6 separate regions of the Homo sapiens genome follow, and all the other regions are linked to region 3. The links are contacts of gene promoters, found by promoter capture Hi-C in blood cells and fetal thymus (Javierre and others, 2016). All regions are on one chromosome and are shown on one strand. Each heading gives the region's core, a stretch centred on a gene start or on the middle of the fragment in contact. The rest is flanking DNA. Distances are from core to core; before and after follow the strand shown.

Evidence for each region. Contacts are between HindIII fragments. The CHiCAGO score rates a contact against its expected background, and 5 or more counts as called.
Region 1: a fragment that was not itself captured here is called in contact with the fragment with the promoter of COL4A4 in region 3 in 1 of 17 cell types (fetal thymus); the score reaches 6.4 in fetal thymus.
Region 2: a contact is called between a fragment that was not itself captured here and the fragment with the promoter of COL4A4 in region 3, in 1 of 17 cell types (M0 macrophages). The highest score is 5.2, in M0 macrophages.
Region 4: a contact is called between a fragment that was not itself captured here and the fragment with the promoter of COL4A4 in region 3, in 4 of 17 cell types (M0 macrophages, monocytes, M2 macrophages and 1 more). The highest score is 6.1, in M0 macrophages.
Region 5: a contact is called between a fragment that was not itself captured here and the fragment with the promoter of COL4A4 in region 3, in 5 of 17 cell types (M2 macrophages, M1 macrophages, monocytes and 2 more). The highest score is 12.2, in M2 macrophages.
Region 6: a fragment that was not itself captured here is called in contact with the fragment with the promoter of COL4A4 in region 3 in 5 of 17 cell types (M0 macrophages, M1 macrophages, M2 macrophages and 2 more); the score reaches 13.2 in M0 macrophages.

The regions. Positions count from the first base shown.
Region 1 is chr2:226,161,301-226,164,000 of GRCh38, reverse strand. All of the region lies in intron 2 of LOC646736 (a long non-coding RNA gene), which reads right to left. Among named protein-coding and RNA genes, the nearest start is that of MIR5702, 500 kb to the left of the region's middle. The HindIII fragment of the contact is 703 bases long and covers 987-1,689 here.
Region 2 is chr2:225,758,537-225,761,236 of GRCh38, reverse strand. The region is part of intron 2 of LOC105373914 (a long non-coding RNA gene); the gene reads left to right. Among named protein-coding and RNA genes, the nearest start is that of NYAP2, 360 kb to the right of the region's middle. The HindIII fragment of the contact is 1,089 bases long and covers 835-1,923 here.
Region 3 is chr2:227,162,882-227,165,581 of GRCh38, reverse strand. COL4A4 (collagen type IV alpha 4 chain) reads left to right here and starts at 1,377. Exons shown (of 48, transcript NM_000092.5): 1 at 1,377-1,575. COL4A3 (collagen type IV alpha 3 chain) reads right to left here and starts at 958. Exons shown (of 52, transcript NM_000091.5): 1 at 769-958. The coding sequence starts at 855. RefSeq lists silencers at 725-904, 1,125-1,504 and enhancers at 1,775-1,874, 1,149-2,050. The HindIII fragment of the contact is 7,891 bases long and covers 1-2,700 here.
Region 4 is chr2:225,734,792-225,737,491 of GRCh38, reverse strand. It overlaps LOC105373914 (a long non-coding RNA gene), which reads left to right. Exons shown (of 7, transcript XR_007088110.1): 4 at 1,856-1,911. Among named protein-coding and RNA genes, the nearest start is that of NYAP2, 340 kb to the right of the region's middle. The HindIII fragment of the contact is 577 bases long and covers 1,114-1,690 here.
Region 5 is chr2:225,706,477-225,709,176 of GRCh38, reverse strand. All of the region lies in intron 5 of LOC105373914 (a long non-coding RNA gene), which reads left to right. Among named protein-coding and RNA genes, the nearest start is that of NYAP2, 310 kb to the right of the region's middle. The HindIII fragment of the contact is 2,983 bases long and covers 1-2,700 here.
Region 6 is chr2:225,686,538-225,689,237 of GRCh38, reverse strand. All of the region lies in intron 7 of NYAP2 (neuronal tyrosine-phosphorylated phosphoinositide-3-kinase adaptor 2), which reads right to left. The region is part of intron 5 of LOC105373914 (a long non-coding RNA gene); the gene reads left to right. Among named protein-coding and RNA genes, the nearest start is that of NYAP2, 290 kb to the right of the region's middle. The HindIII fragment of the contact is 1,284 bases long and covers 716-1,999 here.

The DNA of each region.
Region 1 (2,700 bases), core at 89-2,588, 1.0 Mb after region 3:
TAAATAAAATGCTAAGGTCTTTGATAAAAATAATAATATGCTGTTTCTTGGCCTATTATTATTTTTAAAAAGAGATAGTTGGCCCAATCTGTGAGTCAAGGTATTTTTAGCCTTTTAAAAATATGGACATACTTATAGTAACTTATTTCATATTTTTTCTACTAAAATGATATTTCAGACCCAAATATACAAATTGTATTCTCAAAGCTTTTTTTTTTTTTTTTAAATGATGTCCTAAAGATGGCAACAAAAGAAACTGGGGACTACTAGAGAGGAGAGATTGGGAGGGGGACAAAGGTTGAAAAACTAACCATTGGGTGCTATGCTCAGTACATGGGTAATGGGATTAATTGTGCCCCAAACCTCAGCATTATGTAATATATCCAGATAACAAACCTGCACATGTACCACTTGAATCTAAAATAAAAGTAGAAATTATTAAAAAAAAATAGATGTCCATAGCTGGAATGATAGGAAAGATACAGAACACCAAGTTGGGACAGAGGACCAGAGCATGAATGTTACTTAAGTCCGAAATAAAGAAAAGGTTCTCTTGTGTTGTTGTTTTGCTTAGACAAAGGGAACTCTAGGGAAAAAAGGATCATGACAATTAAAGAGACCCCAAAGAGCAGATGCAAACTGAATTTTACCATAAGTCAATCAACTGGGCCTAGGTTGATCTTAGAGCTCATTAAACTCCTTTTCTGGGATCAGCTTATGGAAGGCCAATCCTGTGGCCACCATTCCCCTTTGAGAGCCCATCACGCAGCATTCTGATGGCCTGGTGTTGTGTTGCAGAGGCATGTTGGAGGGTGACTGGTGGCAAAATGCAGTACACAGATGATTAACAATTGTTTGCCATGGACTGGCCTCATGTTGAAGGTGGTTAAGGGATAGGCATACATGAAACATGGTCAAAAGCTTCCACCAAACTTCTTTTAGTTTCTCTTCTCTCAGCCTCACCTAATGTATAATATTTTAAAGCTTTCTTTGTGAAAAATAAAAATGAATTAGCAGTAGAAAAATCATGAACAGTATTTGGTGAAAGTTCTAAATGTGGTTAAGAATAATTTAATTCAAATAGTAAATTTCCTGGTCTTACATTTCTTCTTCCTTATTCTGACAAAAACAAACAAACAAACAAACAAACAACAACAACAACAACAAAAACCCTCAACTTTCCTTTGGGAACCCATTCTTCTCATTTTTTTTAGCCAGTTATTGGCTGGGATGGCAGTGATGGCCAGGGTGGGGCATAGCACCCAGGCTTGGCCAATGAGAATTCCCAATCCCCCTTGTAGTCTCATGTCTCCCACGTGGTTCTAATCATAGTGAATCTGTGTTTCTGTGCTGTATGTACTGGGAATGGATGCTCTCTTATTCTGTTGGACTTAAATTTCAGAGAATGAATATAGAAAGCTACTGCTAGCTTCTTCCCATCACATGTAGCCTAAAGAGGTAGACAACACCACAGAGAGATGGGTAGAGACAAGCTAAACCAAAAGAAGGAGAGAAAATTCGTTGTAATTGGCATCATTTTAAAACAGGGATTTCTCAATCATATGTGCCAATAAATTATCTTTTTCTTTCAGTTTGAGATTATTTTCTTGCAAGTGATTGAATAAATAGCTGAATAAATACTGTATATTTCTCATTTTGAAGAAACAACTATACTACTGTACTGAAGCTTTTATTGACATTCTAACAGTATGTATTTGGGAAATTTATCAGGAACATTTTTATTAGGTGTGTTTCAAGGGAGAAATTAAGTAAAATAAATAAACACTTCTTTGGAGTGCCAGTTTTGGTATATATTAAATTCTGGTATCTATTCTCAGCAAAATACATATCAACAGGTAAGTCAGTACATACCCAAGGGAATATTTCATAGTTTTTCCTGTTTTGAAAATAAGTATTTGGCTGGTCAAAGGGAAACTGAATAAAAGAATTAGAAGGCCCGGCACAGTGGCTCATGCCTGTAATCCCAGCACTTTGGGAGGCTGAGGTGCGTGGATCACTTGAGGTCAGGAGTTCAAGACCAGGCTGGCCAACATGGTGAAACCCTGTCTCTACTAAAAATACAAAAATTAGCCAGATGTGATGACATACACATGTAATCCTAGCTACGGGGGAGGCTGAGGCATGAGAATTGCTTGAACCTGGGAGGTGGATGTTGCAGTGAGCCAAGATCATGCCACTGCACTCCGTGCTGGGCAACTGAGTGAGACCCCATCTCAAAAAACTCAAAAAAGAGTTAAAATAAATCACTGTCTATTGTGCCAAAGAGCTGTTGAAGTCATCATTCTTAGAAGAATAGACAGATGGTATTTCAAGGCTTGATTTATAGCAATCATATTTAATCACAACTTAATGGTCCATAAATATATGTGCTGTTATCAGTGGAACTGTTTCAGAAAACAGACATAATCTTAACTTTCTTTGTAAAGGATCAGCTAGTAAACATGTTAGGCTTTGCAGGTCATACAGTCTTTGTTGTAACTATTCAACTCCGCCACTGTTTTGTGAATGCAGCAATAGGCAATATGCAAATGATTGACCATGACTGTGTTCTAAAAACACTTTATTTATGGACACTGAGAGCTTAATTTCATGTTTCATGCCTTTCATGAAGTGCTATTTTCTTTTAAATTTCGGTTGATTTTTTTTAACCATATTAAAATATAGAAAACATTCTTAGCT
Region 2 (2,700 bases), core at 130-2,629, 1.4 Mb after region 3:
TTCAGATATCATTGTCATCATATTTAAGACTTCCAAGATTTGAAGTATAGAAGATGATTTTTATAAATGTGCCATGCTCTTTGAGAATATGTATTTTCTAATTTTCTAGTGCAGCTCACTATGTATACACACATATATATGTATCATATTTATGTTGTATATATGATATATATGTGTATCATATATGTACCTACATATATGTAAATATATTCTATAGGTACATGCTCATCTATGTGTGTGTATATGTCTCTAGTAGGTAAAGATTATTATGTTTTTTGTTCAAATTTTCTTTATATTTATTATTTTCTAACCTATCAGTTACTAACAGAAATTCTGAAAGAATTTTAAGAACTGTTTACCATACCCCTATGATTTCATCCCCAACCAATCAACATTTCCCATTTCCTAGTCCCCTGCCTACAAAACTATCCTTGAAAACCCCTAACCTGCGAGCCTTACGGGAAATTGATGTGAGTAAAATCTCCGTCTCCTTCATGGCCTAGCTAACCTAGCCTCAATTAAATTCTTTCTTTATTTTAATACCATGGTCTGTGCAGTGGGCAGGAAGAACCTGTTGGGCAATTACATGGGCACCTAATGTAAAGTTAGTCTCCATGACAACTCATGGTGCAGGCTTGCCTGCTCAGTAAAGGCAATCTTTCCAAGATCCCCACTTTGGGAAGAGGTCTCAGTTCTGTTTCCTTGCCTTTTCTCCAGCTCAAACTTATTTCTCTTCTCCCTTCACAGGGGTTAAAATTTTAAGTACTAGAATAAGGGCTTCTCATGGCATAATCCCTTGATAAGCCACTTCAGCCCAACTCATAAAATTAAGCTTTCTTCTTCATTTGTACTTATTTGGAATCTCCAAAGCTATTTTTTATCAGTTTCTCCAGCATTTTTATGTGTTTTGTGTAGAATTAGAGTTTTGCCTTTGCCAGTGCCACCATTTCATCCAAACTGGAACTCTTCAGCCAATTCTTTAAGAATGATCATTCATTGCTGCCTACTATGCAGGAGAAGATAAATAACAGATGATTGCTGTCCTCACAATCTAGGGGAAGAGAGAGAGATTTGCCCTGAATTGTGTGTCGAGGAGCTTCATGGAAAGGCCTGAGGAGGCACAAAGAAATAAGTCATTAGCTGGACTGTGAGGATTGAAGAAGACTTCCCCAAAGAGAGATTTGAAATGACCTCTACAGGGTGACAAGGAGCCCCAGGGTGGAAAAACCAAGAGGAAGACATTGTCTTAAGAAGACTGAATGTGTAGCCTCAGGATGTCATATCAACACAGAGGTGAGAGTTGAGGCTGTAAGACCAATGAACATGGTCATGCAGAAAGCATGGGGTAGAAGGAGAAAAATTAATGACATGCAACTTAGGAGAAACAAAGTTGAACAGGAACCATCAAAGACCCTCATGTTCTATGGTTGAACAAAAACCTCTGTTGAAAGGAAGCTCCAATTTTGAGGGAAATTACAAGCAAAAGAGAAGGCCTTTGTGGGCCCAAATTAAGAAATGAACTTTCCTATTTGAGCAAAACGTCTTTTAATCTTCTATTCTCAATAAGGTGGTTTTAACCTTCTCATAACATTAATTGCAATGCTTAACTAGAGTTAAGGCTTATAGAAACCTCCTACATAATAAATCATAACTAAAGCTAGCAGAATATCACAGGTTTGGTTACTGCATGACAATTTCTATAATGGGCATTTTATTATTTTATTTTCTACAAGGCTGGAAATGTACTCACCTTTATTTTACCACATACACATCCCATGATCATCCAAAATGTCACTGTGAGCAGTCAGCAAAGAAAGGAAAAAACTAAACACGCATCTACTGAAACAAGAAAATGCCTAAAGGGTCTCTTAAACATCCTAAATCAGCATAATCTTCTCCTTTATCTTCAGAATTCCACAAGCTTCTATTATAACATAGACTCCTCTTGATCCCCTAAAGGTTTACAATCAGTCTAAAGTTTCCTCATTCTAAGCCCCAAAAGGGAATTTTACTTTTTAACTATCTGCACTAGACAAAAAGTTAATTCAAGGAATTGACTTCTGTGGCCTCAAGAATTGAGTAATAAACCCTCTTGTATCCATTAAGATTCTTTGAGAGTGAGAGTTCCCCCAAAGCACCAAAGGGCAATTATTGTAAATCTACCTGGACAGAGCTTTCAGCATAGGTAAAATTTAATTCTCAGCTTACTCAGAGGTGAAAAATGGCCTTACTGAGAAGGATGCCTTTTCTGAGACTCTGCTGGTTCCATATACAGCACCCACATTATACTACACTCCCTCTGACAACTAGCACAATTTGAAAACCACGATTTTCCCTGAACATATGTTATTCATGGTTCTCATGCAGCAGCGTTTACTACACAATAGGTACTAAAAAATGTTTATCCAGGAGAAAGCATGAATAACTGAGTGAAATACAAATCTTTTAGTTGAACAATAATTGAAGATGAAGAAGCAGTTTCAGGGAAGTTGGTGGTGGAACTGAGTCTAGGATGGACGTCTATATCTGACTTACCTTCATCACAGTCTGCTTCAAATGAAGGACAAACTTCAGTAGTGAAGGCGCATTGAATTTAGCATGTTCAGAACTTAGCTCATTCAATCTCAGACTTTAGCAGTTAAGCAAACACCTGAGAAGCTGATTTAAATTAAAATTAACTGATTTCATACCCAGATGTTA
Region 3 (2,700 bases), core at 128-2,627:
TTCACAAGGTAAAATCAAGTGAGTCAACTCTAGGAGGCACAATCGTTTTGAGGACAATCAATTTCTATTTAATGGCAAAGAATAAGAAATATGGGATGGATTTAAATAAATCCAGTTTCACTCAAATTCCAAGTCAAAAATCAAATCAAAGTGTCAGATTGCTTAAATGATTCTAACCTGAGTTCGATTTCTAAGGTGCTCTTAATTTTTCAGTGATAGCATTTGCTTTTCCCAACAATAGCAAAGGAAAACTGGAGGGCAAGTTTTGCAAGGAAGAAACTGAGCCCCAGAGAGGTCAGGGTTTAGTGTGACGTCCCAGCTAGGAAGTGGCGGCTGGGACTCCCTGCAGGTGTCTCCTGCCAGCCCTCTGTGCGCTGGGCCAAGCTGCTTGATTTGATTCACCAGCGTGACACCGTGCATCTCCACATCCGGTGTTCTCACGTATCATCCCTGGCGATTATCTATGTGTCTATTTTTTAATTTACTGACCTCTGGAGGCCTGTCCCCGCCATCCCTGACTCCTAGGCACTGGACAAGCCCCCTCCTCGCCTCTTCCCCCAGCCCCGCGCATTCCACCTGTTCCGGGGCATCCCCGCTTGCTCCCTTCCGCTCGCTGCCTGTCCCGGGACCTGCGTGAAGCCCTCAGCCTCGCCACTAGCCCGGCAGCCGCTCCACTACCGCGCCGCTGCGGGTGGGGCCAGCGCGTCCCCCGGACGCGTGGAGGAGGGATGGAAGTGCGGGGGTGGGGGTCGCGCAGCCCCCACTCACCTTGCTGGCTGCGGGCGCCGCCGCCAGGAGCACCAGCAGGAGCGGCAGCAGGAGCACCTGCGGCCTGGGGGCGGTCCGGGCGCTCATGGTGGGCGCGCGCTCAGAGCCTGGGCGAGTCCGGGGACCCTCAGGCTCTCAGGCCACCGCGTCTCCTGCGCAGCGCGGCTCTGGGAGCCCGGCTGGAAAGCTCGCCTCGCCACTCGGCCGGGGCGGGTTTTGTAGGGCTCGGTCGCGCGGTTCGTCCCTCCCCACCCAGGCTTTTTGGTTGTGGCTTCAAGGGAGGGAAGACGTGGCTCAGGTCCCGCCCTCATACCCCCTCCCTCCCAACTTACCAGGCAGTGTCCCTTCTACCCGGGCATCGTGCCCAGGAGGCGAGAAAGGGCTGGGCGCCTGAGGGGCAGGTGGGCGCGGATCCAGGGTAAGGGGTTAAGGAGGTGATGCTCCCAAGGTCCGGGGGCCCAGGCGGGGAAGTGGGGTGCGGTCGGAGGTGGGGCGTTTGGGGGTGTGCGGTGGGGAGGTGGCTGCGCGGTGGGGAGGTGGCTGCGCAGGGTGGAGGGAGTGGCCAGCGGCCCTGCCCAGATTAAGCGGGAGGCGCGCCGGGCGTCTGCACTCGGGAGGCCCCGCTTGTTCCCCGCGCCCGCGGCGGTCCGCGTTCCCCGCCTCCAGCCCGCCTCCAACTTGCGGCCGCCGGGCTTGGCTGCGAGAGCGCCGCGAAGAGGCAGCGGGGCGCGGGTGGATTGGGGCTGGAGGTGCGCGTCCCGTGGGGTGGCAAGGCGGCAGCTCCTGGCGCTGCGGGCGTCCCCACAGGTAAGGCGCCCATAGGTGGGGCAACCGCTGTCCCGGGGCCCCGGCACCTGCCTGGGAGGGGCAGTGGAGGGAGCGTGGCATTCAAGGGGTGGTGGCGGGCCCAGCTGGGGAGTTGTGGCCCGGGGGTCACCAGAGGAGAGCGCGTCTGGCTCCTGGGCTTGTCTGCCTGGGCTTTAACTGGGTGCTGTGTGTTTTGATTAATTTGGAGGCTCGAGTTACCGGCCTGGCAGTCGGGGCACTCCAAAATGCCAAGAGAAAGAGGCAGCTGAGGAGAAAGAGAAAGCCCATCTTATTCTCCGCTGAGTTGAACTGCTTTTCAGGCCAAATCTTATCTGCGGAAATGCAGGGCAAAACAAGACTCAGCTCTGGTCAGGGTGCGCTCTTCCTGGGGGTGGCCTGCGATGCAAATGTGCCAGGGCACGGTCCTCCAGCCGGCTCTCGCCGTTTCCTGTGCTACGGACCACACTGGCTCTGGTAAAGCAATTAGACTGTTTCTCAGAAGAATGTTGTGAAATGCATAAAATACAATTAAATCAGAATCAGTTTTATTGGAATGCAATTATGGAAGTCCTCAAGTCGTGATATAGTAACTAACACAGGTGCATCATCATTATTGCATTAAATAGCTTGATTTAACAGCAGGCCGATTAAGCAACAGTAATGTCAAAGTAGTGATGTCTGCAAATGGTATTTTGAGATAATAGCCCAAACTGAAATGTGACATGAAAATACCGGTGGGTGCAAATTATCAAGAACTGCCAATACTACTGTGCTCTGTTGCCTGTGCTCATAAGGGAAGGACATGTTGAACTTCTGTGACATGTTACTAAAAGTAAAGATGCAACTTATTTTCCTATGTGAGTTTCCTATACAGATCACCTGAATTCCATCCTCAGGTTAAGAATCTTTGCTTTGGAACAGTGTTGCTGATATTTGCTGCAATTGGCTTCAGACACCAAGTATGATCATGCAGTTGGTCACTGATTTTAGGGAACCACTTGCTTGCAGTTAAATTTGGGATCTATTGGTATCTTAGAACTTTGTAGCCATGCAGGTAGGCAAAACCCTAACAGTGAATGAAGACACTCCTCCCATTCTTTTTATTTTGACTATAGCATGAATCTT
Region 4 (2,700 bases), core at 153-2,652, 1.4 Mb after region 3:
TTGGAGTAGCACATCTGACTTATCTTTTATAAGGTAAGAATTTAAAGGAATGTTGCTACAGAGGAGTGTGTGTGTGTGTGTGTGTGTGTACCTGTGTGTGTGAGTGAACATGCATGCATTGTAATAGGGGCTTTTTGGGATAGGGAGGCTCAGAAGTGGTCTGACTGTCTTAACAAGCCTTTTCCATCCAACAAACCGTCCATTCTCTTGTTAGAGGTTAACTGACCTCAGTAGAGCCTGCACAACCTCTATCTTTAGAGTTGAGCTAACATGAAAGTAACCAATGCCTCAGTAATGCTGATTCTTGAAACAACAAAGCAAAATGAGGTGGGAAAGGAACAACTTCAACTCATTGACTGACATTTAACTTGCATTCACTTTGAACCCAGCTGTCTCCCAGTCATTAAGGAAAACATTTTCCTAGAGTAAAGGATTAGAAGGACTTCATCCCCACTGCTATTATTATTTAATTCTGAGTTCCAGTTTACAATTTATTTCTAAAAAACACAAAACAAATAACATTGGTATAGAACTTCATACTGCATTTTTTCATGTACTTTTTTTTCTTTTCAGTGCTATATGATATTTTGAAAAGTAATTATTAACCTTCCCAGATTAGAAATTTTAAAACTTTAAAGGTCAAAGGAGGTTAAAATTTTAAAGGCCAAAGGAGATCAAAAGAAGTGCCCCAGATCACCAAATTACTAGAAAGGGGAGAGTTAATGTAACTTGAGTTTTCTGCCAGCAGCAACTAAAATTCATATAACACAAGCAGACAATAAATAAATGGGGAAAATTTGAGTTTCTCTGAAACAATATAAACCCAAATAAGCCTGTTGGCAATCTGCTCACATGAAAGAAAAATAAAAATAATATGTTTCTAAGACCTAGAGAGAATTCATTCAACAAATATTTATTGAGCCTTTATCATATGCCCACTTATTTTCCCAATGCCCAACAGCCTTGGCCTACTTGACAGCCTTTTTATAAAGTGGAATCCACATACCATTAACCCCTTTAGAGCCTGTGAAAAATGCCTGTTGTATCAGAATCCATAGGAGGAATATGCACCTTTAATATGTGGTCTAGGTGGTTTTTATGGATGATAAAGCTTAAAAATCCTGATTTAAGAATCTCGACTCAGATTCCCAAGTAGATTCAATGCCTCCTTTTCTTATTTCCAGTACACAAGGTAAAAACTTTCAGAGAAATGAGTGCCACTTTCTTTATCCTTCTATTATTTGCATTGAAATAATATTTTCACTCAAATAGTTCTCCTCTGAAACAATGAAATGATAGGTGCTATAATTCAGAGCCATAGAATCTAGTCACTAAACACAGCACTATCTGTCTGAGTTTGTTGGAGAAATCTACGAGGGTGGCCCAACTGCAAGATTTTTTTCTTTGGCAGCAATCCCATCAGTTTGTCTGACTAAAGTTTATGCCTATATTTTAATGACTCATATTCTCCTTCTGCTCTGTCCCATGAATTACTTGGCAGAATTTCTGCTGATTTGGAACATCACTTGTCAAGGAGAAGGTATCAGATTGTGTGTGTGTATATTTCAAAATGAGCAGATGCAAACGTCTGAACGATTTGCTCTTTTGCAGACCTCTCAGGATGACCTAATTTTCCTAAAGTCTTAAATTTAAAATCATAACATGCACTTCATGTTCTTTAACATAAGCTTTAACCTTTAAAATTTTCAAAGAATAAAATGACAAAATAACAAAATTGACAGGGAACTAGGGTGACAAAAATGCTGTGTACATCAAAGGAGGAAAGACGAAGGGAACTTTTACTGTTTAGCTCATGACGATCACTACTCCCTGACCTGTGAATTCTGCCCTCCAGAGATCTACTTCCCCTGGGAATGAATCCTGCATAAAGACCCATGTATGGAAAGCAAGGTGAGAACTTGGATCAAGAACTCATGAAGTATATAAAAAGATCAAAGCCACACAATATGTCTCTGACAAAAGTGCTAGACTATTTAACTATTGTTCATTAATAATATTAATCTCAAGTCCTTTTTTGCAATCTGAAATATTGCCTTCTTTCCACTTCAGAGCTTTAGTTATATGTCAGCTAGCCCCTTCACTCTTTGAGGTGTGGAGTGGGGCGGTGAAGTTTAGAAAGGGAGGGCTGAGTGGGAAAAAAAAAAGATGGGGGAGTTCCTCAAACCACAGGATGTAGAATCTTTTAGAACATGGAGAAGGGACATTTTCTAAAGTTCTATGTTCAATGCCAGGAATTTAAATTGCATCCTGCTATAATTGAAAATGTGTATGTCTAACCTAGGGTTTCTTAACCTCAGCGCTATTGACATTGGAGGTGGATAACTCTGTTGTGGAGCCTGACTTGTGTGTTATAGAATGTTTAGTAACATCTCTGGCCTCTTCCTCCAGATGCCAGTTGTCCTGTCCTCCATTAAGACAACCAAAATGTCTCAAGACATTGCCAGAGGTCCCCTGGGGGACAAAATCATACCCTGTGGAGAACCATTGGGCTAACTGGCCTGGATCTGCCACATGGGTGACCCTTCACATGTGAGGCAGTACCCAGCCTCCATCCGGCCCACCTTCCACCCTCAGGGAGTACCTGCTGCCCACTCCACCACTGCTGGTTGAGTCTTCCCTGCTGTTGGGCTCCAGCTGGCATCTTCTTCATGCAGCTAGTGCAGGCGAAACTTCTCAATA
Region 5 (2,700 bases), core at 158-2,657, 1.5 Mb after region 3:
TTAATTTCCTTTTATTCATACTGTTAGTTTTCATCAAATGTTTGGTGATTCTTGGTCTTCTTCCCACACTTATTAATAAATGTGTTGATCAGTTAAGGGAGGGGTAATGAATATCCTCTTTAGTAGATCCATAAACTCTTAAACTTCACCTATGGCTTTGGTTTTTATAGATAAGTAAAATGTTTTCCACAGTGCCTGTATATAAACTCCACAGTGCCTACATAATCTGGCCCCTGCCTCTCTCCCTGACCTCATCTTTGTGATGACCTGTATGGTTCCCCAACACATCAAGTGTACTTTATCTCAGAAACTTTACAATTCCCCAGATATCTAAAATACTCCCTCAAGTATTTGCATAGTTGACTATTCATTGTTTGTATCCCATCTCACCTTCTTAGATCTAGTGAATGATGCATTGATAAAGCAGAAAGAAAAATCTATGAGAAGTCATCAGAAAATAAGGTGGCCAATCAATTTTTGGCCTTACTATTTCCTTGTACTAATTTTTCTTCATTTTTATGTCTTGACTTGTCTTACTTTCCTTTCTAAACCACTCTGATGAAGTTCTTCAGTGGTGTATTTTACAAAGTCCATATATTTATTTGAAAAGAGTCTACACATTCAAATAAAAATGATGTAAACTTCTTTCAAAGATTCCACCCAACAATATTTGATATGAATTACGTTTTCCAGAACTAGATAATCTTAATCTTATTTTTTAGCTTCATAACATCCCTACCCTTGTGTCTTTCCCCGGCAAACTTCATACCCTCATGTTGAAGTTTGTATTGCAGGCTACCCTCTCCTCATCTTCCAGTTTTTCAATCTCTACCTTGCTTATGACTGTTGCAATATTTGATGACAGAAACTTGCCTCTCTTGCATACAATCATTTGAATTTGAGACCTTTGAAGAGTGATCCTGGAGTCTGGGAGGAGGCAGGGGTTTCTAGGGACTTATATGTAAGATACTGGGTTGATAGGTTTCAGTAAACAACAGCGGGATGGTTTGGAACTTGGACAATGTAATTGGCGTTTGAAGGCTATGAGAAGTCAAGAAAATTTTAGAGTAGAACAAACATGTGAATTCTAGTTTCAGAAAAAGTCTAGAGGATCCTCAGGCAAGCAGACCATTTTGAGAGAATTATATTCGTGGCTATCTAATGATCTCTAAAGTGGTTTCAGGCCTCTGTGTCATTTTCTTCATAGTCTTCCTATTGCAAAGGAAAAGCATATGTTTACCAAGGAAGCAGTAAGTCTGTGTGTGTAACCTCTGACAAACAGGTGTCAAACCCCAAGGGAATGAGGAGAATGGGCAAAATAATGCCTCTACTAGCACTGTATAATCTTCTAGTCTCAGAGCAGGCTCCTTGCAGCCGTTTGAATACTTACGAGTTTTGCCACATCTGAGTAGCACTTGAACATCATACCTTATAGTCCTTAAGGTGAAGGTTGGGTTAAGTTGATGCTACCAACTTCAACATTGATATAAATAATTATGTCCATTATATAAGCTCAAAGATAAGTGAGGTTGCCGTCTTTTATTCATGACCATAGCCTGATTACTGATCACCATGGCTGGTATTACAACAAGTATTCAAGAAATATTTATTCAGTGAATGAAATAAAGTAGTTTAATATGTTAACTTTATATTTATGTAAAAAATTCTTAACTATTAAAATTAAAAAGTGTGGATTTTTTTATATTGAAGTGTTATGAGTAACACCTTTCAAGGACCCTTGTGAGAAAATATTGCTAGAGCATTGAGGCACAAGTGCCCAGCGGGATGGGACATTTTAACTTACTACCAAGTCTCTCTCTTTCTTTTTTCCCTTTCCTTAATAAACGTGATATCATATGGTATATTCACAAAGAAAGACAAAAAAATTTAGATTAATGCATTCTTTAAAACCAAATACCTCCAGAAGGCAGCAATAGTTACCCTAAGGAAAATCAACAAGCAGAATCAATTTAAAAGCCAGCTTACTATTTCACCCTAGCAAACTGATTTGTTCTTCATTGAAACCAGCTAGAAGATCGATAAGAAATTATTAAGGACTAAGATTTTAGCAAGCATAAAGTCCTCTACACTGATCTGTAGTACCTATGAAGTTTGTTGTATTGTAGAGAAAAATACTGCTTTTTCAGTGACGAGTATATATACCTAAGTTAGATGGGTCACTTCCATTCAGGCTACATGGAACTGCATAGTGATTAAAATGTCTTTGAGTATCTGTATATGATGAATAGCAAACTAATACAAATTAATTTAAATGAGAGTCTATGTTACATTGGTTTGGTTTTTGATTCAGATAAGCCTGGTTTGAATTTCCACAATCAATTACTATTGTGTATTAGTTTGGGAAAGTTTTCTAAACCTCAGCATCTTTACCCAGAAAATGAACATATTCATAGGGTTGAGGTAAGAATTTGAAAAGATGTCTTAAAAACTTAGTTCAGTGTTTTGCATAAAGTAAGAAATAAATTGTAGCGGTCTTACTATTGTTATTATTAGTCTTACTATTAAAATGAATTATAAACCCATAAGTAGTGACACTTAGGGTATCATTGTATGCATTTTGTGAACTAAAATTATTCCTGATTGGTTTTATCTCATGCTCTAACTTGTGTTTCATTCTCGTTAAAATTCTCACACATTTCTAATGTATGTCACCTTGCTATATTTGCACATTAATTACAA
Region 6 (2,700 bases), core at 108-2,607, 1.5 Mb after region 3:
AATGAGGAAAACACCTAATGCTTCAATCTATAGTGATGTCCTTTAAGCAAGACCCATGTCACAAATTACTTTCAGGGATGAAGGCTGGTTTCAACTACCATGCTGAACAGTGACAATTAATAGCTTATTTCAAGCTCCTAATAGAATGCACATCCCTTTTAAAATATGTATGTGTGTGTTTGATGTTCAATTTTCAAGCTGGGCGCAGTGGCTCACACCTGTAATCCCAGCACTTTGGGAGGCTGAGGCAGCAGATCACTTGAGGTCAGGAGTTCCAGACCAGCCTGGCCAACTTGGCAAAACCCCATCTCTGCTAAAAATACAAAAATTAGCCAGGCACGGTGGTGTACACCTGTAATCCCGGCTACTCGGGAGGCTGAGGCAGGAGAATCGCTTAAGCCCAGGAGGCAGAGGTTGCAATGAGCCAAGATCGTGCCACTGCACTCCACCCTGGGTGTCAGAGCAAGACTCCATCTCAAAAATAGACAGACAAAAAAAAGTTGATTTTCTATTTTCTGAGGAGACAGTATAAGATGAATAAAATGGATAAGATGATGTGGTTTTTATCACTTATTATATGTGAGATCAGAACAAGTTACCTAACCTTTCCTTTTTTTAACCTGTAAAATGAAAATAATAAAATAGGTTTCTTGAGAAGATTAAATGTCCTAATTTGGTATCTACTGAAAAGTGGACACTTCTAAAAATATAAGCTTTTCTACCCCAGTAGACAATGAACTCTTTAAAGACAGGGACTCCATTATTAATCTTCATATTCTTAGCTTTTAACACAGTAAAATTATGCAATAAATGTTCATAAAAAATGAATGAATAAACAAATGGATCACACTAAGTGTAACATTTTCTGAGTATTTTCAGGAAAGGTGCTTTTGAAATCCTTGATTTCATGAATGAGTTCATTCCACTTTGGCTCAACTGAATCCAACAATACCTCAAATTGTACAAAGTTAACAAAAATATTGCCTGGGCTTTATAAACCCCAGGAGGCATCTAACCTGAAACTCAGTCCTCAATGCCATGTGAGTCACACCTGGGTGTTCAATGACTGAGAACGTCTCTTTTTCAAACTCTGGACATCAATCCTTGGCCCTTTGGCTGAAGTTGAGACACAAATCAATGCTCCCTAAGCCTTAGTATGCATTCAACCAAGGAAGTATGCAACTCCCTTGGGAGTTTATTAAAATGCAAATTCTTAGGCACCAATGTCAGAGAATCTGACTTTAATTCTAGATAAGGTGGGTCTTAAGCAGTTATAGTTTTATTAGGCTTCCTAGTGATTTTGATGGATGATAGGCTGAGCACCACATTTTGAGAGATACCCAAATTCTAGTTAATGATAAGAGGTTATACTAACTCAAGAGGGCGCAGAAACGTTCTCTCAAGATCTGACCTTTCCCGTTCTCTGTCCATACGTACTGGGTACAACATGCAAGTAAAGAATCAATTGAGATTTTGAGAGAAGTCAGACAGATTTTTGTCTTAGCAAATTATTTCAAGTACAGTCTATCCATTTTGCATATATTTATAAATGTATCCATGTATCTCTATGCATATTTACACATATGTGCATATATTATATATTTATGATTAAATCACTGAATCATTTTAAGGTCTCTTAGTTAACATATTACTTAAGAAATAAAATTGCAAAAGTGTCTTAAAGAATATATGTGTCAATAATGTCATTCAAGAAAAAGTGGTGGCCTAAAGTTAATAAGGTGCCATATATTGAGATTTTTGATTGATCTAAAGGAATTATCCCAAAACATTCTTCAGTGACATCATAAAAGTTCTAAGATAAATTGGCAAGTTATATGCACCTTCTATCTTGTGACTTTGGAGAGAAGGATTGTCACAATCTATAAAATAAACATAGCAGTATCAACAATGTAATAATACCAACAACCATGATTTATTGCACATAACCATGTTCCAGGCACTCTATGAGCCCTGGACATATCTCAATTCCCTTAAAGCTTAATAACTCTTAAGCATGCCCTATTGATATATTTCAGATAATAAAATGAAGCTTGAAGAGATTAAGTTACACGTATAGCATCACATGCCTAATAGAAGACAGAATTAGAATTGCAATTCAAGACTAAATATATCACATGCTAAATAAAAACTGCACTCAGTATTATAGCAGATTGCTTCACAGCTAATTATGAGTAAAGTAGTTCTTATTAGAAACACATACACACAAGCACAATTACTTCCCTTCATATAGCCCATGACATGGGAAGTGCACTTGATCAAACAAAGGCTGTTAAGTTTGCTGCTGGAAGATAAGAGGACTTATAAACTGTTAATCAAAACTTTGATGGATAAATGAAAATTTGACCTTTCTATTTGTCATTGTTGTCATCACTACCATTGTCTTCGTCTTCATTATTATCAAGATCCTAGGCACAATAACCACAGTGTTTCCACACAGTGGGCAAGGCACTGTGTAATCACTATGTCTGCTCCATCTTATCTCACCTCCAAATAGCTTACTCACTGGTAGAACCTCCATATACTTGTGTACTGAAAATACATTGCCCACTATGGGTACAGCATCAAAAGAAGTCCCTCTAAAGGTAAATTTTTAAAATTTTATTTCATCAGCCACACTGCAGATCATTTCAGTAAACCCTGTTTTCCTCAGTTTCATGGTAGCAGACAAATATAGTACAG